Regions from separate parts of the Homo sapiens genome. Here regions 1, 2, 4 and 5 are each linked to region 3. Evidence: promoter capture Hi-C in 16 types of primary human blood cells and fetal thymus (Javierre and others, 2016). All regions are on one chromosome and are shown on one strand. The core of a region is centred on a gene start or on the middle of the fragment in contact, and the rest is flanking DNA. Distances in the headings are between cores, read along the strand shown.

Region 1 (4,460 bases), core at 783-3,282, 510 kb before region 3:
AAAAATTTTTTCTTGACTGAATGAATGACTAGGCTTTCTTTACTTAAATGATCAAAATGGGTGTATTATCCATCCTTAAGAACAATTTATTTGCAGACAATTGTTCAGAACCTAGGTAACAAGTAAAATATTGAAGTTACAGAACATTATAGAGACTATTAATCATCCCAAAAAACAAGTGCTAGGAAAGAGTTAAATATGCGCAGAAAAATAAAGTTAGAATGAAATCTCTTTTAGAAGTACCTCTTTAGTCTTCATCAGATTTGTTTTTCTCTAAAAGTGCCACCTTGTGGAATATACCGGAATAAAACAAGAAAGCTCATCTCTTAGGACAGTGTGAATGTTTAGAAAGACTTTTGCAAGAAAAGTCACCTTCCTTTCCTACCACATCAACTTCAAATTGCTGTAACAGTATTTCAGCAGATGCTCGAAAAGAGCCTGTATTTATTTTCAGGTGGCTCTTGTTTTCTTCCTAAGGCTAGACAAGGTAACAATATGTTGAAGGAAGTCCACTTCTACTCATTTAGCTAAACGTTATCACTTCCTGGAAATGCTGAGAAATAGAAAACATTTTGAAAAGCTGATTGGCACTTCATTAAGAAAATAAAAATCCCCAGAAAGGCTACTTGAGAAAAAAACGTGTAAAAATTGGACCCCTTCTGTTTTTACATTTCTGTTGCTTACAAAGGTCAGAAGATAGAGAGACCAAAGGATTATTTTTGGTTTATTTTCTGAAAAAGTACAAGATAGAAATGCTTGAGATATAGGGATGTATTAAAATTGGGTTGTGAATTGCATTGATATAGAAAGGGAGTAAATAAGAAATGAAAATGCTAGTTTCTCATGCTTTTGAGGAAAACAGCATTTCTAATTACTCTAAGGACTTACATTTCTTGGCACACTTTGGTAGCCTCAATAAGTTTTTCCACTGTGGAGATGGAACATGTAAATATCTTCCTAATTATATACCCAAATATACTTAATGGACATGATAAATGGTTTTGGGTAAGGTTCACAATTTTTCAAAAGTATTGGTGGCATAGGAAACACATGCCTTTTAAAAATTTATTTTTTCAATGAACGTTCTTAGGCATGTGTAAGAAGTATTGCTTCATGTGGTTGCCTCTTCCCTTGAAATGGGAAAAAAGTACAGGTAATTTAGTTTGCTTGGGACAGCTTCTCCATAACATTTGTTTTCGACCATATTAATCCCACAGTTACCAGATGACCTTAGTATAAATTTTTACAATATATTTGTTCATAAAGAATATATCCTTCAAAATATATATAGCTTTGAAACTACCCTTTAAATACCTTCATTTTCTCCAGAATTTCCTTTATCTATTGCCCACTGTTTTATGAATAATTTTTAAAGCCTTAGAAATCATACATCTTTATCTGTCACAATGTGAAACATGCATTCTTTTGAATTATATAAATATCTAAGAGTTTATAATAACATTCCAATATTTTCTTTCCAGGGTAAATATTCTGTAGTTTCTATACTAACATAATTAAGTAATTATGGTGGCATATTCACTTTTAACATTATTTTTTCCTAGACTCAACTATGCAATTAAAGCCTGCTTTTGGAAAATGTAAGACACTCTCATGTGCTTATCATAAGAATAGTCAAATTGTCACTTAAAAGAAAAGCAATATTTTAGAAGAATTTTAATATGTTTATGATATTAGGAAGCTTACATAATTTAATTTCCACAATGGAACAATAATGGCCATTACTGACTTTAATAGGCACCACTTGTAAAAGAAGCAGCTACAGTTTCTTAAACACTCACTTTAAATACATAATTTAAAGTTCAAAATGTTTGGTACTATTTAAGAGTTTTCTCATCAAGATGGATAGTACATTCTGGAGAGTCAAACTATACATTTCTCTATAGAAAAGAAACATGCTTTATTTAAGATAGGAACATCTCATGCCTTCTAAAGCTTTCATTTTTATTTAACACAATGCTGAGATTCTATTCTTAGGTGAATAATTTTCAACTATTTTTAGTAAGTCACCTGGGGCTAAATGAAAAGTCTGCCATTCACAGTGTGTGCTTCCTGAGAGAAAATCATGAGAATACAGGGGGCTGAAATGGCCCCAAGCTTTCTTCCAAAACAGGTTCTTTGCACCTTGAGTTCCCATCCACTTCAAAGGAGGGACAAAGTGGGAGGCTCCAACCCACTGGGTTCTTACAAGTGCTTAGAAATTGTATTTTTAAGATTAGGTCCTTTTTATTACCCTTTGCCATGGGATTTCTTATGAAAGCTAAATGGACAAGTTTCTCTTTTTCTCTTTTTATATGTAGGTTGTTTTGACTCCACCCTGTGCAACAGTTCCCAAAATGCCTGAGCCGCCAGAACCAAACATCAAACAGAAACTAGCAGGGACATTCTTGTACTGGTCCTACTATGAAATTCAAACATGATTTCAAATCTGTCACAATATTTTAACTTGCTATGAGCTGCTTCAGTGTAACCTTGGGGCAATATGCCCTTTTCAGTTCACCACTGCTTAGCTTTTGGCAAAGATGTTTGAAACCATATGTTACAGAAGAATAAGCTGTAGTCACTAAGTTCTTACTCTACTATCTGCTTCAAAATGCCCTAACGGCAAGACTGCTTGTGTTGGATCTGGATTTCAGAAATGGCGAATCTGGACATAAAATACATAAATCAAGAGAGTATTCACTCAAATGCAACAACTACACCGATGGAAGAACTGGGGACAGATTTTTACAAAGTTCAGAGAGGCTGAGATGCCCTTTCATTCTGTGTCATCAGAAGATAATCTGCCAACGATTGAATGCCAGAATGTTTGTGCTTTAATTTTTCTTCATAAGCACTGCCTAGAAATGAGTCAAAAGCAGATGCTAGGAATAAAAGTTGAGCTCTCTACTCATTTAAAATTCTAAAGAATGCTGAAAAATTCCAGTTCAGAACAGCTGCATTTTTCTTGAGTGAACTTATGAAAACACTTTTACAACAGCAAAAACTAAAGCTATGTTCACTCTAGCCATGAATACTAACCAAAAAGCTCAGATGAATCAGTGCAGTGAGTTTTTAAATTCAATTTGTAGGCCCTAGCAAAAATGTCTTTGTATTTTGACCCTCGATCAAAGGAAAGGCAGAACTCACTTTTCCATGTGAGACTTTGAGTAGACCTGACCTTGAATGCTGTGGATTCATTATATCTCAAGCATTTATAGTACTGACAACACCTAATCAATGTTGTCACAACGAAAGTAGAAAACATTTGTATGGCCCATCTCCTTTATTATCTTGCTCTAGAAAACAATGTTCCTGTTCCTCAAGCTACTGAATTAGAACAATGTTAAGTAGTACAGCAATTAAAAAAGAATAGTTCCCAACCCCAAAAGCTCTTCAGGAGAAACATCTCCTAGTTTTTTCTCTTGTTCAAGATAGTCATATATCACATTAAGCTGCAAAGAATTCAGTACAACTTAATAATGCATAAACATGATCTGAATTATTTTCTGAGTGCAGCAACCTCCATTCTTTGAAAATCCTAACCCTAAACATAATCTAACTGTTGCATGATCTAACTGTTGCATGCACTCTGAGTCAGAAAGCACAGGTGGCTAAACTTTCCAAAAGATACTTTCTGTGTCCTCTGGTTACTAGAGCCAACTGAGCACTAAACCACTTATAAGGCAGAGATGGTATGAAATATAAAGGACTGTAGAGAAAACAGTAAGAGAAAAAGGAAAAGCTGTTTACAATGCCCAGGCCAGGCTGGCTCTGTAGAGAGCAGGAGTGAGCACAAGGCACTAGAAATAAGCACAGCCTGGGGGATGGAGAAAAGATCATTTGATAGAGTAAATGTATGGCCCTAAAACATAGCTAAAGACATACCCTCAGGTAAAGACACTGAAAATATCTTCTATAAAAATGTAATTCACAAAGTAACAGTTTATAGCAATCTGTGTGCTGGTGATAAAACAAAACAAGATCCTACTCATTATTTAGGTAACAAAAGTAAACACCAGGTAGAAGGACTGCATTAGAGAACATATGTGACCCTGTTAGGTTTGCAGAATCGAGGCCATAAACCATAAGCTGAGACTGCGAATTTATGAAAGGTTCATTGAAAGCAAGCAAACAGGTGGTGCATGGGAACAGCTTAAGCAATCTGTTATTAGTTATACAATGGTAGCAATATATTTCAGAAGTGCCGGGAGATAGACAAGATGGATACTTTGCCAACAAGGCAGTGTGTGGCAGAAAGTACAGTGTAATAGATGAGGAAAATTTCAAGGCCACTCCTGTCTCTAGTTAGAGAGAACTACTCTCCAAACCAAAACAGGAAAGAGTTTCTGACAAATTCCTAAAAACAAAAACAAAATAACAACAACAAACAACAATAACAACAACAAAAAAAGGGAAGAAAGGAATTTCAAACCAGGAAATAAAGGCTTTCTATTCTTTTT
Region 2 (5,053 bases), core at 1,267-3,766, 310 kb before region 3:
AGCAGGTCTTACTAAAACAGTCAAATCCAAATGACCTTTGCATGACTGAAACACTTGTAGTATTAGGTAGAAAAACTATATAATAGGGGAAATAACACCCTGGAGTCAAAAGGCTTGTGGTCTAGTCCTGACTCTGCCAGCAGACAGTTGACCTTGAGCAAGTCATTTACGTTGTCTGTTTCTTTATCTGCAAGACGGGAATAACAATCCTCCCCCAGTCTCCCTCACTGCTGCTGTGAACGTAATTATATTAACAGCACTTAAGAAGTAGACAACTGTCATGACGAAAAGAAGTGATGAATTCATTACATATTTTTTAAAAAACAAAACTTCAGTCTCAGGCTAGCTTCTATGCATTTTATTAGAAACATACAATAATTTTACTGGATTTGAATGTTTAAGTTGTCACCCAGGTTGGAAGTGACATAAGAAGATAAACAGTAATAGTAAGTAGATGGGCAGAATTCAATAGTAAAGGGCTATATAAATATACTTCAAAAAAAGCAATTATAGGCCGGGTGCAGTGGCTCACGCCTGTAATCCCAGCACTTTGGGAGGCTGAGGTGGGCGGATCACGAGGTCAAGAGATTGAGACCATCCTAGCCAACATGGCGAAACCCCATCTAAAAATACAACAATTAGCTGGGCATGGTGGTGCGTGCCTGTAGTCCCAGCTACTCAGGAGGGTGAGGCAGGAGAATTGCTTGAACCCAGGAGGCGGAGGTTGCAGTGAGCCGAGATCGCGCCCGGTGACAGAATGAGAACCCCCCCAGCGCCAAAGAAAAAAAAAGGCAATTATATAGGAGAAATATCAAAATAATACTTTATTGAGAGAAAGAAAATTTGAAGTAACATAAATAATCAGTACCCAGCATTTTCTCATAGAATTTCCACAGGTCTCCAGCATTGCTTTCTGCAGTATTTTACTCATTGGACATTCTTCAGCTATATAAATAAGCATTGTGAACGAGCCTGGGATTCAACTACAGTTATAATGTTGTATCTACTAGAAATCCTGAGTGCTCAAACCCCAATGTAGCAGGGTACTTTAGGCAAACATCGTTTTAGTCCCTTCACCATCCTTGTACACTGAGACACGTGGCTGAAAATATTTACGCCCTCCTTACCGTGTGTAAAAACAAAATGAAAAGATTCTTTCTTGGCCTTTGACTCTCAGAAGGAAGAACAAACTGGGGTGGCTTCGAGTGAACAGTCTTGAGATTAAATGTGGAAATAATTATAGCACTTGAAGATGGCAGAAGGTGGCATTCAAGATGACAGTGTAACTCCATCTAATAGCAACCATTTGTTGAACAGCTCCTATGTCCGTAGTACCTATGCCTTGCCCTTGCAACTACTACCTGATATAATGTCACACTTAACCAGAGAAAAAGTAGGCAGACTTGAGAGATTCCTAATGGACTTAATCATTTTGTCCAAGAGAATGAGAGATGCACATAATATTAGAATTTGAAGATTTTGTCAAGTTCTGCCACCAATCCTATTAACAAAACCACCCCCCTACAAAATATTCTGAAGGAGAGGAATAAGTAAGGCAACTAAGTACTTGACAAGTATCAAACACTTAAAAGGGCGAGGCGCAGCAGCTCATGTCTGTAATCCCAGCACTTTGGGAGGCTAAGGCTGGAGGATCATGAGGTCAGGAGTTCGAGATCAGCCTGACCAACACTGTGAAACCCTGTCTCTACTAAAAATACAAAAATTAGCTATGTGCCTGTAATCCCAGCTACTCAGGAGGCTGAGGCAGGAGAATCGCTTGAACTTGGGAGGTGGAGATTGCAATCAGCCAAGATGGTGCCATTGCACTCTGGCCTGAGCAACAGAGTGAGACTCCAACTCAAAAAAACAAAACAAAACAAAACAAAACACTTAAAAGGTACCTAACTTCAGAGACATCACTTAATATGTGTCCTAATTTTACAAATGAAGACATTGAAGCTTAGAGGTAGGAAGCATAATGGGGTTAAGACACATAGTCATGTGGCAGAACTGGAATGTGAACCCACATTTGACCTCCTCTCTTAGGTAATCAATAATATCCAATAATCAATAAGTAATAGTGTTTGTTATTTCTGAGGCCCATGTGTAGCTTCAGACTTTTAATTTAAATTTTCTCATTCAATTTTTTTTTTTTTTGAGACAGGGTCTTGCTCTGTCTCCCAGGTTGGGGTCAAGTGGTGTGATCATGGCTCACTGCAGCCTCAAACTCCTAGGCTCAAGCCTTGATCTTCCCACCTCAGCCTCCAGAGTAGCCGGGACCAGAGGTGAGTGCCACTATACCTGGCTAAATTTTAGGAAATATTTTTTGTAGAAATGAGGTCTCACTACGTTGCCCAGGCTGGTCTCAAATTCCTGGCCTCAAGCAATCCTCCCACCTCAGCCTCCCAAGGTGCTGGGATTACACACATGAGCCACTGTGCCTGGCCCACACTCAAACTTTTTAAGATGACAGCACAGTACCTTTCACAAGGATATCATATATTGAATTACTGAGCTGTGGTTCAAAAGTTTGTTCATGGTTTACCGTACAGACATTAACCACTGCTCAATCATTTCTAAAAACATATATAAAGTTGATGCCAATTCACAATCACCAGAATTTATTTTTAATTGTCATACTAATTTGGTGATCAGACCCTCTTCTATGTCAGAAACAAAGGGCATATATGTGAGTTGACTGCAGCCTTCTGACAAGGAGCAATTTTCTTCTAAGTAAGTTACAACTAAATTCCCAGCCTTGGTCTGTACACCCATGATCTAACAACTTTTTTTGCCTTTCTCAACAGTGGCCAAGAAAATATATGCAATTCATAGTAATTCATGATTTGGGATTTTATTTCTATGTAAAATGGGATAATTTTTAAGGACCCTGAAGTCCTTTAAATCACAAATCACTTTAGGGTAGCAGTCTATTCCTGCCAGAATTCGTTTACTGGAATTACAAAGTAAATAACCGTGAAAAGAAGATGGAGGTGAAAATCAAGGTTGTAGAGAATTTGAGAGGGAAACAGAAAGGGAATCATACTGCTTGCTTTTAAAAAAAAAATGCACCAAAGCTTTCTTCATTCAAGCAGTTGGTTTTGTTCCCTAACTGGTCCCCCACATATCTAAGTGCAATGAGTACATTCCCAACTCCTACTGCCAAGTTAAAATGAAAACGTTCTCAGTCTAGAAATGATTGAGGTGGTTTTCTTTAATCAAATTAGAGCAGCCAAATGTTCCTTTCAAAGGTAACTGTCTACTCTGCAGCTGTATGCAAACTACCACATCAAATGTGAGGGAAAAAATAGCGATAGAATTGTGTCCTTACAGTACAGAGCTAGCTGCAGAGATGGAGAAACAAAAGCATTTGTACAGTTAAGAATTACATTCACAGTGAGCTTCCAGAAATATGCTGACTTCACAAACTGTGAACAATGTATTGAAACTTCCAGTACATAATTAGCTATTTTGGGGAGGGGAGGAACATGGGGGGAAATGCCCCCTTAAAAACGGCTAAGCAGCAATAGATACCTTGAGTCATTTACCCTCCCAACCAAAGTTTCTCAATGAGAAACATTAAAAGACTGGCTGAGACTTCATAGGAAAAAAAAGTCTCATAGACCTTGCTTTTTCACTTCCTGTCTCCATCAAAAACACACCACAGTGAGTAAACTTGAGTATCCCGCAAGCTTCAATTAAGCTTGTAATGATTCATTTGCATGCAGAATTTATTCTTTTAAATAATCAGACATGGGAATTTCCTGCAAAGAATTAATTCATAGTGGGCTTATTTTTTCAGTTTGTTTCCCTTAAGAAAAATCAATTGGCTAACATTCCCAATATGATGTCAAATTAGCTTTTCTATGTTACAATTTATATCAGCTGTTGGTTTCAGGGATGGTATATCAACAGTATGAAAACCTAGAAGATGACAATGAATTTATATAGCCAGGTGCAATCAGCAACAGAAGAATGAAACAATGTTCTTTCTTCAATTATGGATCCTCTCCAGATGGTTATACTGTCCTCTAAATTAAGGAATGTGGAATAAATAGGGGAAAAGTATATCTCATGTGATCCCAATATTTCTCCAGAGCAGCTGTTCTTAAACTTTTTTGCTTCTGGTGAAATTAGCAGACAACTTCCTTGGTTCACATGCCCTTTGACATTACCCAAATTTAAGAACTGCTGCATAACAAAAACTTCCCGCAGGTAATAAGCAATTCTTGGGCTGCAGCCCTTCTGCTCCCAACCAGGAAAGCAAACTGAATTGCAAAAAAAAAAAAAAAAAAAAGACATTTTGATTATTCAAAAATTTATTTTAAGAAGTGTAATCAGACTTCCAGTTCAAAATGGTGGACCTATCACAAATATTTGCCTCCATTCTTTCTCAGTAAAAGAAATAAACCCATAATTACAAAAGGGCGTCCCACATACACAAAAAGGAGAGAATTTAGTAAATTTGCTGGGTGACTGAAAATAAACAGAAATAAGGTGATGGAAGAAGTCACCAAAGAGATAGTAGTCTCCAAAGTGAAGAACATATAATCAGGAGATGTATTAAGAAAATATCTTCTATTTTTAGGTATTTTGTACCCCTTCATTTCAAAATCATTATTTTTATTAAATATATAATAATATATCTGTATATGTACATAATTTTTATAATTCAGTGAATATCAGTGACATGCTCAAATATTTTTACTAGAAGGGAGGCCACTGCCCTAGAACAAGCCATGAGGGCACCGTGGAGGAAGCAGAAGCTGGACTACGAGTCAACAGGTGCAATGGAAAAAGGGAGGAAGAAGGGCAGCCATTTTCTTCCCACATTCAGGGGAGTCAACTAAATGTCTGTATATAGGGTAACTGCACCAGTTAGCATTCCTATTGCCATCCCTGTACCTAAGATCTTGGAGTAAACCATTTCTTATTGTGACATTTGAGAGTTTTTCCACATCCTGACAGCCATTTTTCCAGCCACCCAAAAGTAAAGCCTGTGAAGCATACTCCCATCCCAAGATTCCTATGCCAAACAAGTCTCCCAAAAATT
Region 3 (5,125 bases), core at 906-3,405:
ATTATTGCAGTCTCAGATTATGAACTTTTGACTTCTGCATCCCACTCAGTGTTGATTCAATACTGGTTTTAGAGTTGTCTAAAAACTGACTACACCCTCGTCTAGTAACCATTCTATCTGAGTCACTTTCTTGTATCCATTTACTGAGTCACGTCTACTCCACCCTATGAAAGTATGCTCACTTTTGTTGCACCCACACTATTTAACACATAAAGCAGGGGTCCCCGATTATTGTGCTGCTAGCGTGCGCTGGCTCCTGAGGCCTCATACCTATGGCTCTCATCCCCCATCTCGCCGCTTCCCACCAGTACCCTTTTCCTAGGGTCTCCCTGACTTCCTTCATCAACTTGGACCTTTCACAGTTTTACAGACACAGTCCTTAGTCTCTGGTGATATGTCATAAACTAGATTATGAGACTGGTGAATTAGATGGATTATTTGATTCATGCAAGAACTACATACCATTATATGTGAAAACGTAAAGTCAGGTTCTCATATAAGAGTGTGGGGGATGGAGAACTGGGCCTGAACATTTGGTTGGGAAAGTAAGCAAATAATAAAGAAGTGACTTTTGACTGTTTTCTCTACTAGAGACACTATGAATATTTCAAATGTCATTGAACAGGTTACACTTTCACACTTCTTCCCCTAAAGCTTTTGTCAGATTATTGATAGCTGTGCCTTTCAATACATTATTTTAAAAAAATTGTTGATGATGTCACTCTTGGAGAAAATATATGCCAGCATTCATAGGTATTTATGCCACTGTTCATAGATATTTTACATATTAATGATTTCTTTATACCCTCTCGTTCCAAAATGTTTTTTAGGTAATTTAGAAAGTAATATAGGATCACACATATATTAAAACCCTTAGGTAAAGAAATCATGGGGAAGGCTAAATAAGGGTAGGGGGAGAAAAGGTGAAATGAGGGAGTAAAATTAGTACCTAAAATTACTGGTTTTGATTCCGTATACTTTAAAAACTGACCTGAAAATTTGGTTCTGAGCATCTTAGTAGGAAACACTATTTGTTACTGATTGAACCCACATACATTTTTTAACTCTGGTTGGTGTTAAACTGTAGGGTTTGTTAACTTTTCTAGAAGGGAGTTGAAGGTCAGACCTTTATTCAGAAATGTGATCCTCCAACCGTCTTGCATTATCTTACTGTTTGCTTTGGGGAGAAATTAGACATAAACCTAGTATTTTTGCCAGGAACATAAAGCTGCCTTAATTCCAAAGACTTCCCATAGTAGTCTATCTGTCTGTCTGTCTTCCTATGTATGTCATCCGACAACAATATCTGAGAAGCTCTCAGAGAGTTTTGTTTTCTGGAAGCTACCTATTTCTTAGAGTAGATGGTGGAAGTTGTATTTGATTAAAGTAAAGTACTTTTAAGTTTTCATTGCCTGTTCTTTATCTATCTTTCCGTTTGTTGTTGTTGTTGTTGTTGTTGTTGTTGTTGTTTTTGAGACAGTGTCTCACTCTGTTGCCTATGCTGGAGTGCAGTGGTACAATTACAGCTCACTGTAACCTTAAATTCCTGGGCTCAAGCAATCCTTCTGCCTCAGCCTCCAAAGTAGCTAGACTGCAGCTGCGTGCCACCACATCCAGCTATTTTTTTTTTTGGTAGGAATCTTGCTAGGTAGGGTCTTGCTATGTTGCCCAAGCTAATTTTGAATTCCTGGCCTCAAACAATTCTCCTGTCCTTGCCTTCCAAAGTGCTCAAATTACAGGCTACCACACCTGGCCTGTTTGTTCTTTCTGAAGATGCTGTATGCCTTGGGAGAGTTCATCAATAAAAGTGTCTGTAGTTTTCAACTGCATCTTTAATGAAATGTTATGACTAATTTTTCAACTAATATAAAGCAGACTGCTGTCAGAGCAACAAATAGTCTAGAATTTCTAGGCTTAGAATACTATTTTTTGTTTTGAGGTATATTTGAAGCTTCTAATTGAAAAGTATATTTCTTTCTATTCAATAAAATGCTGCTATAGATAGTAAGAACAATATTAATAATAGATATTGTACTTACCCAGTAGTCTTGCAAATTTCTTTTACATATATGTGGGGAAAACCATCTCTTTTAGTGCTGAAAATATCTGATGTGTTTGTTTTCTTCCTCCTACGATGCTAGAGAAAAGTATTTTCCTCATTCTGGTTTTAACGGAAGTCTATGTATTCTCTGCTTCTGTCTCACAGCAAGCTCTAATTGGCTCAGAAACAGCAGGGCGTGTTTAACAACTGGGAGGTTGGGGAAGGAAGAATATAGGTTTGGTTTCAGTTTCATTTCTCAGATCTGAAATTACAGCACCGCCTTTTCTATCTGAAATGCTTTTTAATAAGCTATGGCTATATACCACCTTCTGGTCTGCTTGGTTAAAATCTGAAGGCTTAACAATTTTTCCTCACTTGAGAGTTTTGAGGGCTGCAGAAAGCCCCATTGTCTTGTTATAGACAAACTGTGGGATATTCTGGCTTAATTGATCCCTTGGGAATATGAGTTTACATTGCAGTCCCAGCCTTGTAGAGCACCAGGTTGGAGATACTCTAGGTCAATATTTCACTGGCCTTTAAGGGTGGAGTTACTGTCCATTCCTGTTTTCCTAAAGTGTAAAGAATGTCTTTCAGGGATAGGACTTCTTTGAGCACCCCAATAAGTGCTAAATTCATTTATTGCAGAGCAGACCAGGGCTGCAGCAGACCTGATGGTCACATTGTAGAGATTTATCTTTTCTAAGGTCAGTGTCAGGGCCAGAGAGAAAACTGCCTGAGTGAGAGCAACAAAAATAGCTGATATTTTAAAAACTAACAGCAAGTACTGATATTTATTGTGTGTGCTCAATTAGCTTTTGGTTTCCACATCCCACAACTGATTCACACTGGTTTTAGATGAAAACATTTAAAAACATTTATTTTAAAATATTTATTGGGCGCTTACCATGTACCAGGCATTGTTCTAAATGTTTCATATTAACTTAATTACTCTTCACAACAATCTCCTGAGGTAGAGATTATTTTTATCTCAATTTTAAAGGTGAAGAAACTGAGGCATAGAGATTAAATAATATGGCTAAAGTTTGCATAACTAATACATGGCAGAGATTCGAATCCAGGTTTCAGGCCAGTGCTCTTAAATCCTGAGGTTTAGGAAGAAAGAAAGTGGCTATGAAGGACAGCCTAGATATGACCATTACACTTATCACCCTCAGGAGCCCTCCTCGTAAGGGGACCCTGGGCCTGAACTCCAAAACCTGGGTTTCACTTTGCATGGGGACCAGTGTGATGGTTAATTTTATGGGTCAACTTGACCGGGCCACAGAGTGCCTAGATATTTGGTCAAACATTATTCTGGTGGTTCTGTGAGGGTGAGGAGGCAGGACTAGCTTGCAGCTCCTGCTGGGACAGACAGGACAGCATGTGGAGACTCACATCATGAACTTTTGCTTCAAGAATTACTGCAGCAACATACCAGGAAAGCCAAGAGAATTCACAGACCCTTTGAAGGAACTGTATCGCCACTGCAGTTTCTCTGAGATGCCAAAAAGAAAAGTCATGAGTCTGCTTGCTTTCTCAGCAGGGAGGCTGATAGCCAGGGGCAAGTTCTCAGCCCTGGTCACCGACTGCCTGGAAATAGATTCGATGTTGTTGGCAGGGGCACAGTGGGAGTGAGACTGGCCTTTAGGAGTGTGGGTTGTGTGGAAATGGGGTGAGGCCTGTGACTGCTGGCTTTTCCCCACTTCCCTGGTGTCCTATGTCACTCAGTGGAGACAGCCATAATCCCCCTGGGAACATAACTCCATTGGCCTGGGAACCACACCCCCGCCCCCTACAGCAAGTGCAGCAGACCCCACCCAATAAGAGTCTGAGCTCAGCCACACCTATGCCTGCCCCAACCTGTTGGTCTTTCTTTACCTGCCCTGGTTGCAAGACAAAGGACATATTCTGCCCACTGCCTCAGAAACATGAATATATAACTAGATGACCCTAGGTCAAGTTTGCTTCCTCCCTATAGTACCACAGCTAATGCACTCTTGAAAATGCCACCTCCTGGCTGGAGGCCAACCAACACAAAACCAGAGCATTTAACGAAGATATAACCAAGGACCCTTACAGAGTCCACTTCACTCCCCTGCTACCTCCACTGGAGCAGGTGCTGGTATCCACAGCTGAAAGACCTGAAGATGTATTACATCACAGGACTCTTTGCCGACACTTCCCAGTACCAGTCTGGAGTCCAGTAGCTCTGCTAGATGACTAGGCCCAGAAGAGAAAAAACAATCACTGCAGTTTGGCTCCCAGGAAGCCCCATCCCTAGAGGAAGTGGGAGAACACTACATCAAGGGAGCACCCTGTGGGACAAAAGAATCTGAATAGTAGCCCTTGAGTCCCAGATCTTCCCCCTGACACAGTCACCCAAATGAGAAGGAACCAGAAAAACAATTCTGGTAATATGAAAAAACAAGGTTCTTGAACACCCCCAAAATACCACACCAGCTCACCAACAATATATCCAAACCAAGACAAAATCTCTGAATTGCCAGGAAAATAATTCAGAAGGTTTATTATTAAGCTAATCAAAAAGGCACTAGAGAAAGGTGAATTCTAACTTAAAGAAATAACAAACATGATACAGGATATGAAAGGAAAATTCCTCAGTGAAATAGATAGCATACATAAAAAACAATCACAATTTCTGGAAATGAAGAACACAATTAGAGAAATAACAAATGCACTGGAGGTGGTTGGCAAGATGGCCAAATAGGAACAGCTTCGATCTGCAGCTCCCAGTGAGATCAATGCAAAAGGCGGGTGATTTCTGCATTTCCAACTGAGGTACCGGGCTCATCTCATTGGGACTGGTTAGACAGTGGGTGCAGCCCATGGAGGGTGAGCTGAAGCTGGGTGGGGCATCTCCTCACCCAGGAAACACAAGAGGTTGGGGAACTCCCTCCTGTAGTCAAGGGAAGCTGTGAGGGACTGTGCCATGAGGAACGGTGCATTCTGGCCCACCCACATATTACACTTTTCCCATGGTCTTCACAAGCTGCAGACTGGGAGATTCCCTTGGAGGCCTACACCACAAGGGCCCAGGGTTTCAAGCACAAAACTGGGTGGCCA
Region 4 (4,472 bases), core at 1,773-4,272, 440 kb before region 3:
AATCAAAACTAGTGATAATTTCACTGACTTTTCACAGAGTTGCAAAATTTACAACTCTGGTGGGCGCTTGTAGTCCCAGCTACTGGGGAGCCTGAGGCAGGAGAATGGCGTGAACCCGGGAGGCGGAGCTTGCAGTGAGCTGAGATCGCGCCACTGCACTCCAGCCTGGGCGACAGAGAGACTCCGTCTCAAAAAAAAAAAAAAAAGAAAGAAAAGCGTTTCCATTACTTTCCAGTTCTCTATATGATATGACATCTACTCATCACTTCACATTTAATAAGTTCAATGAAAGCTAAAATTTAGATATCTCGTTTTTATCCTTAAGATTTTGCTCTAGTCTGTGTAAATCATTGTAACCAAGTGAGAGTGAAATTAGACTAACTTTATGCTTACACTCTATTTTAAACTATCAACATCTGTCTAAAGAGACATCATTTTTGGTTCAATCTTTGAGGAATTCAATTCCAAAAGAAAGTATAAATTGTTCAAGACTTACATTTCTAGTTAATTCTCTAATAAAATAACCCCATCAATGACCTGGGCCTACATTTAAAAATAACAAACTACTGGGCCAGGCGTGGTGGCTCATGCCTGTAATCCCAGCACTTTGGGAGGCTGAAGCAGGCGGATCACTTGAGGTCAGGAGTTCAAGACCAGCTTGGGCAGCATGGCGAAACCCTGTCTCTACTAAAAATAAAAAAAATTAGCCAGGTGTGGTGGCACACGCCTGTAATCCCTGCTAATAGGGAGGCTGAGGCAGGAGAATTGCTTGAACCTGGGAGGTGGAGGTTGCAGTGAGATTGTATCCCTTTAGTCTGGGTGAAAAGCAAGACTGTCTCAAAAAAAAGGAAAACAAACTACTATATTTTGCAATAGATATAAAAGAATAGCATTTTCTAATAGTTGTTTCCTGGTTTATGTAATATTATTCTATATATCAAGAGAGCATCCCCAGTTTTAATTTGTTAATTTACTTGGCTGTTCTATAATTTCTGAACCACAGTCTTTCAGTCCCTACATTAAGTCACTGAAATTTTAATTATCTCAAATTATGACAACTTCTGTAATTTCATAGGATTTAAAATATCTACTGCAACTAAATCTGGATCCAAGTTTTTGAGAACAAATTGCAACAAATTTTCCTGACAGTAAAATATAAATTCCCTTTGCTTAGACATTATTATACTTCTGTGCCTCTAAAAACTTCTGATGGAAGACTGCTGAACTTAAAACCAGTTTAAGTCATGCATGAGCAGAAGCTTATTTTTATTTGAAAGCTTTATAAAGAATGAATAATATCAATAAAATTGTTTCAAGGTTTTAGCTCGTGAAAGTTCTCAACAATATAATCAATTCTACCAGAAGTTCTGTTTAATAATTCTAAATATCCTTAAAAAGAAAATATAATGGTAAATTTAAATTTTAAAACATGTTGAGGAAAACAATGAGTGCAATATATAAAGATCAACATTTAGAAATCCGTAACAAAAGTCGCTACTAATGGTAACAATGCAGTTGTCTAGTAAGCAAAGACAATAGGAATTATGGACAGAGTTTGGTGATTGGAGCCAGCTGGAACCAAAGCAAATACCATGTTTATTACAATCATTACATGTATTAACAGCCTCTAGAGGTGCTGAATGGATGTGGCAACAGGAGGGGGAGCGGAAGGCAGGGGGGAGTTCAAGGATATTTACACAAGTGGATGTATCTGTTTAAACTGCTTTGATCTCTATTCACATTTTTTTGAACCTGTTCAATAATAGTATAAGAAAAAGTACAGCCAAGGCCAACTCTGACTTAAAATACATTTCAGAGTAAACCGCTCTCACTTGATGTTATATTTAACAATCTTTTATCATGTACCCTTTCACCAAGGTCTTGAAAAAATTAGATGTTATCTGATTCATCCTCATTATATGGCCACAATGGCAGAAAAGCATGGTATGAACACTGTGCTGGATGTCTTCTTTTTGTTGCCCCAGATAGTCTCTGCCCTAGAAATGGACCTGTATCTGCCATATGCCTCCAGTTTCTTACTGGCTTTGGCCAATGGGAAGTCTCGGCAGGAATTCAGAGAGAAGGAGAAGCATGAGGTCAGGATCCTCAACTCTTTGATTTTCCTCCCAGCAAAGCTGTCTAGAACTGACTGTGTTGCCACCACAAAGTCAATGTCCATCTCAGGAAGCCTGCTCTACTTGCTTTCTTCCTCCTGGATTCCAGTAACTGCTTCCCCTCTTCTTCTAGGGCCTGGGAATGGTAATGAACTGACTGCGAGTAAGACTCAGGTCATAGCACCATCCCCTGAGTTCCCCTAAGCCCACATCTCTGCAAATCATGCCTGTGTCAAGAAATCCTTGAACTACTTGAGTTTGAGTGTGCCATCTATTTCCTGTTGGGACCCTGGCTGATACATCCTGTTTATAGATGGAGAAACCAGCGTGGGTGGCAACTTCTTCTCCAAGTTTCAGTTTTCTCATCTGTTAAAGAAGATGTTTGGACTGGGTAATCTATAAGGTGTCCTCTGTTAACATTTTAAGACTCCCTAAATGATATGGCAATGGCAATGAAGATTTAAAAAAACATATATACTTTATGGACCCAACAACGTTATCGTTAAATATCTTTGCTGTCCTTTGGTTTAGTAATTACTTATGGAGTGTTCCAGTGTGGTGATATTCTCCTTCTCGGGCCCACTTCAACAACATGTCTCAAATACAAACATAGATAATGGTTTATCAGGAATATAAATATAATCTTTGAAATACTTCAGAATCTTTATTTTGTCAAAGTGAAGGTTTTCTAAACTGTGCTCTAATCTGTTTATTTGCATCAGAGCAATATAAAACTTTCTAATACATATGTTTTTCTCCCTATAGAAAACTAGTATGGTTGTGTGAAGTGAAAATCAAAACTAGTGATAATTTCACTGACTTTTCACAGAGGTGCAAAATTTACTTCTTTTTTTTTTCGAGACAGAGTGTCACTCTATAGCCCAAGCTGGAGTGCAGTGGTGTGATCTCGGCTCACTGCAACCTCGGTCTCCCGGGTTCAAGTGATTCTCCTGCCTCAGCTTCCCCAGTAGTTGGGATTACAGGCGTGCACCACCATGCCCGGCTAATTTTTTGTATTTTTAGAGACAGAGTTTCGCCATGTTGCCCAGACTGGTCTCGAACTCCTGACCTCAAGTGATCCGCCCTCCTTGGCCTCCTAAAGTGCTGGGATTACAGGTGTGAGCCATCGTGCCCGGCCATAATTTAGTTCTTCAAAATTACATATTTAAATGAAGAATATTATAAAGAATTGGAATTCTAATTCTGCCAAGCACAGTCTTCTCATTATAACACCTTAACTGGTTATGGAAACTATTAAGAATTAAATACTGGCCAGGTGTGGTGGCTCACACCTGTAATCCCAGCACTTTGGGAGGCTGAGGAGGGCGGATGACCTGAGGTTGGGAGTTCGAGACCAGCCTGACCAACATGGTGAAACCCCGTCTCTACTAAAAATACAAAATTAGTCGGGCATGGTGGTGCATGCCTGTAATCCCAGCTATTCAGGAGGCTGAGGCAGGAGAATCGCTGGAACTCAGGAGGTGGAGGTTGCGGTGAGCCGAGATCACACCATTGCGCTCCAGCCTGGGCCAACAAGAGTGAAATTCCATCTCAGAAAAAAAAAAAAAAAAAAAAAAAAAAAGCATTAAATACCCATAAAATAATAATGGAGTCATCTCAAATTCACCCATTTGTAATCTAAGGGCTAGAAGGAGATGTTTTGACATATGGCAAAAAAATGTCTGAGGTCAATACAAAGATGAGAGTCTCACAGCAGGGAGCGCTGTGCCAATAACTTTGTCCTCACCTCTGCTCTGATGCATCCATTACCAGCAGAAGGGCTGTATTTCCTCACATCTACAGCTGCCTTGGCTCACATGGGGCCACTGGCTCCCTTTAGATATGTGGATGTCCCATCACCTGCTATTGCTGGTGTGGTTCTCTGATTCTCTCTCTGGGATTCTCTTTCTCTGAGTCTCTGCAGGTCCAGATCCTACCCATCTTTCAAGCCTCACTCACATATTGCTTCATCCACAAAGCCTTTCCTGATCTCCCAGCTGGAAGTAATGGCTCTTCTCTGAGCTTCCACTGCACTTCTATAGTACTTGACCCTTTCTATCTTGCATTATAGCTTTTCCATTTCTTGGCCACAATACATTTACAGTGTCATGCATGGAAGGTGCTCAGTAATTATCTGATAGCTAGATACATCAATAACCACAGGAAACTCCCAGTGGCAGTGCTGAAGATGGATAGAGGCAATCACCTAGACTGGAGAATATGAGGACAATACTGTCCCATAATAACTTAATATCTTTGAGTAATCATGTATCTTTAACAGAGGAAATGATCCTGTGGAGGGAAGAGCACTACCTGATTAGCTTCAGAGATTGTGTAAGAAGACTCACAGGGCAATGA
Region 5 (5,063 bases), core at 2,439-4,938, 480 kb before region 3:
AGAGCATTGCCTATGGTTAGGTCTACATGGTTAAATTAATAGTCTGCAGGAAGTGCTGGATCTAAGGAGGCAACCACAACTAGGGGGTCACTGGGGTGGAGCTACCTACACATATAGGATGACAAGGAGATTTCATCCAGTCTGGTTGGTAGCGATAGGCTGTAAGCTGGGTTGAGAATGATTCTGAAGTGCTGTGTAGGTGGAGCAAGAGAGAGTGCTACATTAATCAGTAACACACACCTCTGAAAATGAACTAGCTAAGTGAGTCAAGTTTTCTCTCATGATAGGCTGACTTCAAAGCAACATTGATACAAGGAATAAAAATTAGAAAATACAAAAGTAAGTCTGTCTAATAGAGACATTTCAACAGCAAATACTACATACATTACGGTAACTAAAATGTGGCTCTCAAAACTACTTCTTACTTTTAACCTCTGAATCCACTGGTTTTGTCTTCAATACAACATTTTTTGCCAAAGGGAGTCTTATGGGCTCTGTTGTGGGTGTGTCTTTGAGTATATAATTATCATCACCTCTATGCTCACACACCTTTCTCTTGCAAAAACTCTAATATTGACATCAGCCGGATGTCAGCAAAATGACATCTTTCTGAGGCTGAAGGTTTTCATGTTGCCTTTGGGGGAAAATAATCACTAGACATTTTCTGAAATGGAAGTGTCTGTTGGCTGAAGTGGCTTCTTTAAAAAGAAAAAAAGAAGCTTTGCTCAAAATGGAACCAAAAGTATCAGTCATAAAGCATTACAAATGATCTAAAAATATTCTCAAATTGGATTCAATCATTGGTTAAAAATAGTCCAAACACTGAAAGACTGATTTTCTCATTTTTTCCTTAAAAAATTATAATGTGCTCAACATATAAATAAGGGCTCTGGCCCTTGAATGTCAGTGATGTTGTCTACCAGTGTCTAGTATTGTGAGTTTAGTGTGGTGATTAATCAACAAAAGCTAGCATTTATTTTATCAGAATAAAATTTTACTGGCCCAACAGCAAGTTTAACTTTTTCAAAAAGCTTATTTACTGAATTTATATTTTGAATGATTCATCATGGGTACTGTTAAAAATAACAAATTATTGCATACCTATATCAAAACATCTCATGTACCCCATATATATCTACTATGTATCCACAAAAATTAAAAATAAAAAATTTAAAAAGTAACAGATTATCTTGATTATAAAATATATACGCATTGTGGAAAATTTGGAAAATAGAGTAAATAGATGAAAATAAATTACACAGCATCACTTCCATTCTTTTCTCTTTTTATATACAAATGGATATGATGGTATCTCTAAAGATCTTTTTTTTTTTTTTTTTTTTTTTCCAAACAAGCTAAGATGGCACCAATCCCAGGGCAGGATCTGAGTCTTGACTATAGTCCTTAGTTTTGAACAAGTACAGGGTGACAAGAAAGTGCATAACAAAGCTATGACTGAATAAAACTCAAATCTTGGTGAAGAAAAGAAATCAAGGACACATTAAAAAAACTATGGGTACACACATTTTCACTTCTTAGTTTATATCTTATGGCAGGGAGCAGGAGTAATCTTTTCTTTTTCCTTTATGAATGGTAAAGACAACTGGTATCCTGTCTGAATATAATATGCCTATCCAGCACACTTTGGGTAGAATCCAATGATGTGTGATAACTCAACAATTTGGTACAGGAAACAGAGCCCACAACATTCCTCAGAAATTTCACAGACAATCTAGACAGAACAGACCTATTTGAATAGGGTTTTTTGTTCAGTAATATTTGAAGGATGCAATTTTTCACGGTGGACACATTGGGTTTGTGACAGATGCAAATTCAGATATGAATAAAACACAATTAAATGATTCAGACTCTTGAACTGTGCTTCCACAGACCTGATTTCTGCATGGGCCAAACAAAGGAAAGTTGGTGTTTGACAACTGTGGATGACTCATCAGAGGAAGTTCTTACCATGTGGATGTGCTTGTTGAAATAAAGCTGGTTAACAAAGCTAGCCTTTTTTTTTTTTTTTTCCCTCTGTGGGCCAGCGAGGGTTTCATTTTAGGAAATGGAAGTGTCAATGTGGACAAACTGTTCTGAAGTATTTATAGCATAATGTAATGTGTTAGTTTCCTTAAACTGCCTTTGGACAAAGAATATGTGAATGGAAAATAAGATCTGAATTTCTAATACTGTCTTGTGTCATCTGAACTGTATTATGAGTATAAAATGATTTAGCACTGTGATATGTACACAGTGTGATAGGAATGTAGTGTAGCTACAGTGGGGTGTGCTAGTGGCTTTCCAATTAATTTTAAGAGCTCTTTTATTCATTAAGGATATTACACCTTTGTCATATTCATTCATTTTCTCCAAGATTATCACATGCTTTTTAACTTGGCAGTGTTTTTATTTTCTGATGAACAAAAGTTTTCAATTTTTATATAATCAAATATATTAGTATTTTTGTTTGTGACTTCTTAATGCTTTGAAAATATATCTCCATTCTAGGGTCACAGATACTTCCTATAGTTTCTTTATTCTTTTATGGCTTCACTTTTAATATGTAACTCTTTAAGCCATCTGTCATTTGCTCTGTGGTGAGGAATAGTGAGAATCTAATCAGGTTACCATTTTTCCCCCATGAAATTGACCAATTACCCTATTCTCATTTGTTGCATATGCCGTTCTGTCCTCCCAGATTTGTGATTTATGATAAATTGCATCACTTCCTAAATTAGGGTTTCAAGTCTCATTCTCTATTCTGTTCCATTAATGTCTGTCACTTCTGCTGGTACCACATTATTTTTATTACTGTAGTTGCATAATGTATTTTAGTGCTTGGTAGCAGGAGTTTCTCTTCATAACTTTTTTTTTTTGGTAACAAAAAATTCTTGGCTATTTTCACCAGTTTAACTCTTCCAAATGCATTTCAGGAAATCCCACTGGAATTCTGACTGGAGTTGCATAAACCTATGAATTAATTTGGAAACCTTTTATATCCTTACAACTATTCAATCTTCCTGTTCAGGAAAATGGAATATTTAATATCTTTCTAATAATCAAATATTCTCTATATCTAGGAAAGTCATTTTTATGTATCTCAATCAAGTTTTATAGTTTTCTTGATATGGGTTCTACACATTGACTTACATCCATCTACATTTTTGATTTTTATACTGGGAATGAGATGGAGCTGCTGCTAACTCTGGAGAAACTTACTGCTGATCTTTTATCTTTGGACATGATCCTGACTGTTCTCCTAAGTGATGGATTATCTTAGATTTGAAAAGTATAGGAAGTAAAGGACAAGAGGGACATGTGGGGGGATGTAGTAGAGTCTGTTTTATATTCATAGTGAGAAGACTCTGAACCTCCCAGGAGGGCTCTAAAGGTTAAAAAACATGCAACCAAAAGCACCGAGGATTAGTAAAAAGAAATAATGTGCAGTAAGTGCTCAGAGGGATGACTCATTGCATTGGATCATCTTTGGGAAACCACCTACTAAGCAGAATTTAGCAGCTAAAGCGTTATTTTTGGTGCACAGTTTATTGCTACTTCCTCTTGGGAAAAAAAGATTAATCCTAGCTCCCTAAAACACTTAAGAATGGTCACCCTGGCAAACCGGCCTGTCAGGTAACAATGTTGTTTCCAGATCAGGGCAGTGTTAGGTTCCCTGTAGGGATTTCTTCAGAACAAGGGAGAAGCACTTTACCACATGTTATGGAAAGGAGTATAGACCAGGAGACAGAAGATCCAGCTCTTAGTGCTGGCTCTGTAACTGATTAACAAATAAATCCCAGAGTGCAGGCAGGCCACTTAATCTCTGCTCATCTGCTAAAAAACAGATATCACAGCTTCTGTCGTACTCCATATCATGGAAGAAAATAACACAAAATAATAAACCATGTGAATGAAGCAGTTAAAACTGCTGAGAAATAAAATTAACCTGCTCAGTAAAAGTAAGGCTACCAATCAAGAACAAATAGAATGAACTGTTACTCGTTCCAAAGTTATTTATTTTTGCTTAATACTGTATTTCCTTCTCCTTTTTCTCTGTCCTGTGGTTTCTTTTCCTTGTTTCATTATGACTAAATATGCAAGGAAAATTCAATGCTGTTATTTTGGTCCTATCTTTGGCCCAAATCTCTAGATTTAATTTACCCATGATACCGTGCTGTGCTATTTAAAAAGATCACTAAGAAAACTTTATAGATGATGAAGTTAGGAAAATGACAAATAAGGGGATAAATGCGTTTCCTTATTTAGGTGAGGACTATGGCTGAGAAGATTCTGTAACTTAGACATAGTCAGGGACGTGATAAGAGCAGGAGCTGTAATCAGTTTTGCTAATCATGATTTCTAAACAATACTATTTTATCAAGTATTTAAATGCAATCTATCCGTAGCACATTTAAAAAAAAGTTATAAGAAATATTTTTAAATTTGTTATTATTATTATTTTTTGAGACAAGATCTCATTCTGTTGCCCAGGCTGGGGTGCAGTGAAGTGATCTCAGCTTGCTGAAGCCTCCATTTTCTGGGTCAATCATTCACCCACCTCAGCCTCCTGAGTAGCTGGGACCACAGGGGCATGCCACCACACCAGGCTAATTTTTGTATTTTTTGTTTTGTAGAGACAGGGTTTTGCCATGTTGCTCAGGCTGGTTTCGAACTCCTGAGCTCAAGCGATCTGCTGCCTTAGCCTCGCAAAGTGCTGGGATTACAGGCGTGCACCACTGTGCCCAGCCAACACAAATATTAAGGTCAACTTCTGGTTTCAGTACAAACTATTTAGTTTATTTATGAAGCAAATGAACTTACAAGAATGAGAAGGCTGAGGGGATATGATTATATATAAGATCCATTTGCATTATACATTCTCTAGAGAGGTACAACTCTCTGTCATATTTTTGATTTTATAACTATAAGAGAAAAATATCACCGGCAAAGGCTTTATGTCACTCATAAGAAATGAAACAGCATTTGATAAAAAACAGCATGTACAGGAATAAATAATTACATTTTGGTAAAAATATATGTTAAAAAAGATAAAATATTTATGA

What was found. Contacts are between HindIII fragments. The CHiCAGO score rates a contact against its expected background, and 5 or more counts as called.
Region 1: a contact is called between a fragment that was not itself captured here and the fragment with the promoter of SAMD9 in region 3, in 4 of 17 cell types (total CD8 T cells, M0 macrophages, total CD4 T cells and 1 more). The highest score is 7.5, in total CD8 T cells.
Region 2: a contact is called between a fragment that was not itself captured here and the fragment with the promoter of SAMD9 in region 3, in 1 of 17 cell types (fetal thymus). The highest score is 6.5, in fetal thymus.
Region 4: a fragment that was not itself captured here is called in contact with the fragment with the promoter of SAMD9 in region 3 in 1 of 17 cell types (fetal thymus); the score reaches 5.2 in fetal thymus.
Region 5: a fragment that was not itself captured here is called in contact with the fragment with the promoter of SAMD9 in region 3 in 1 of 17 cell types (M2 macrophages); the score reaches 5.8 in M2 macrophages.

Annotation. Positions count from the first base shown.
Region 1 is chr7:92,609,807-92,614,266 of GRCh38, forward strand. CDK6 (cyclin dependent kinase 6) reads right to left here. Exons shown (of 8, transcript NM_001145306.2): 8 at 1-4,460. Among named protein-coding and RNA genes, the nearest start is that of FAM133B, 22 kb to the left of the region's middle. The HindIII fragment of the contact is 162 bases long and covers 1,952-2,113 here.
Region 2 is chr7:92,810,279-92,815,331 of GRCh38, forward strand. All of the region lies in intron 2 of CDK6 (cyclin dependent kinase 6), which reads right to left. Among named protein-coding and RNA genes, the nearest start is that of CDK6-AS1, 24 kb to the right of the region's middle. RefSeq lists an enhancer at 1-303. The HindIII fragment of the contact is 1,118 bases long and covers 1,958-3,075 here.
Region 3 is chr7:93,115,824-93,120,948 of GRCh38, forward strand. It overlaps SAMD9 (sterile alpha motif domain containing 9), which reads right to left and starts at 2,156. Exons shown (of 3, transcript NM_017654.4): 1 at 2,040-2,156. The HindIII fragment of the contact is 4,352 bases long and covers 1,950-5,125 here.
Region 4 is chr7:92,676,767-92,681,238 of GRCh38, forward strand. All of the region lies in intron 4 of CDK6 (cyclin dependent kinase 6), which reads right to left. Among named protein-coding and RNA genes, the nearest start is that of FAM133B, 89 kb to the left of the region's middle. The HindIII fragment of the contact is 3,494 bases long and covers 1,276-4,472 here.
Region 5 is chr7:92,631,611-92,636,673 of GRCh38, forward strand. The region is part of intron 5 of CDK6 (cyclin dependent kinase 6); the gene reads right to left. Among named protein-coding and RNA genes, the nearest start is that of FAM133B, 44 kb to the left of the region's middle. RefSeq lists enhancers at 451-540, 651-700. The HindIII fragment of the contact is 5,319 bases long and covers 1,030-5,063 here.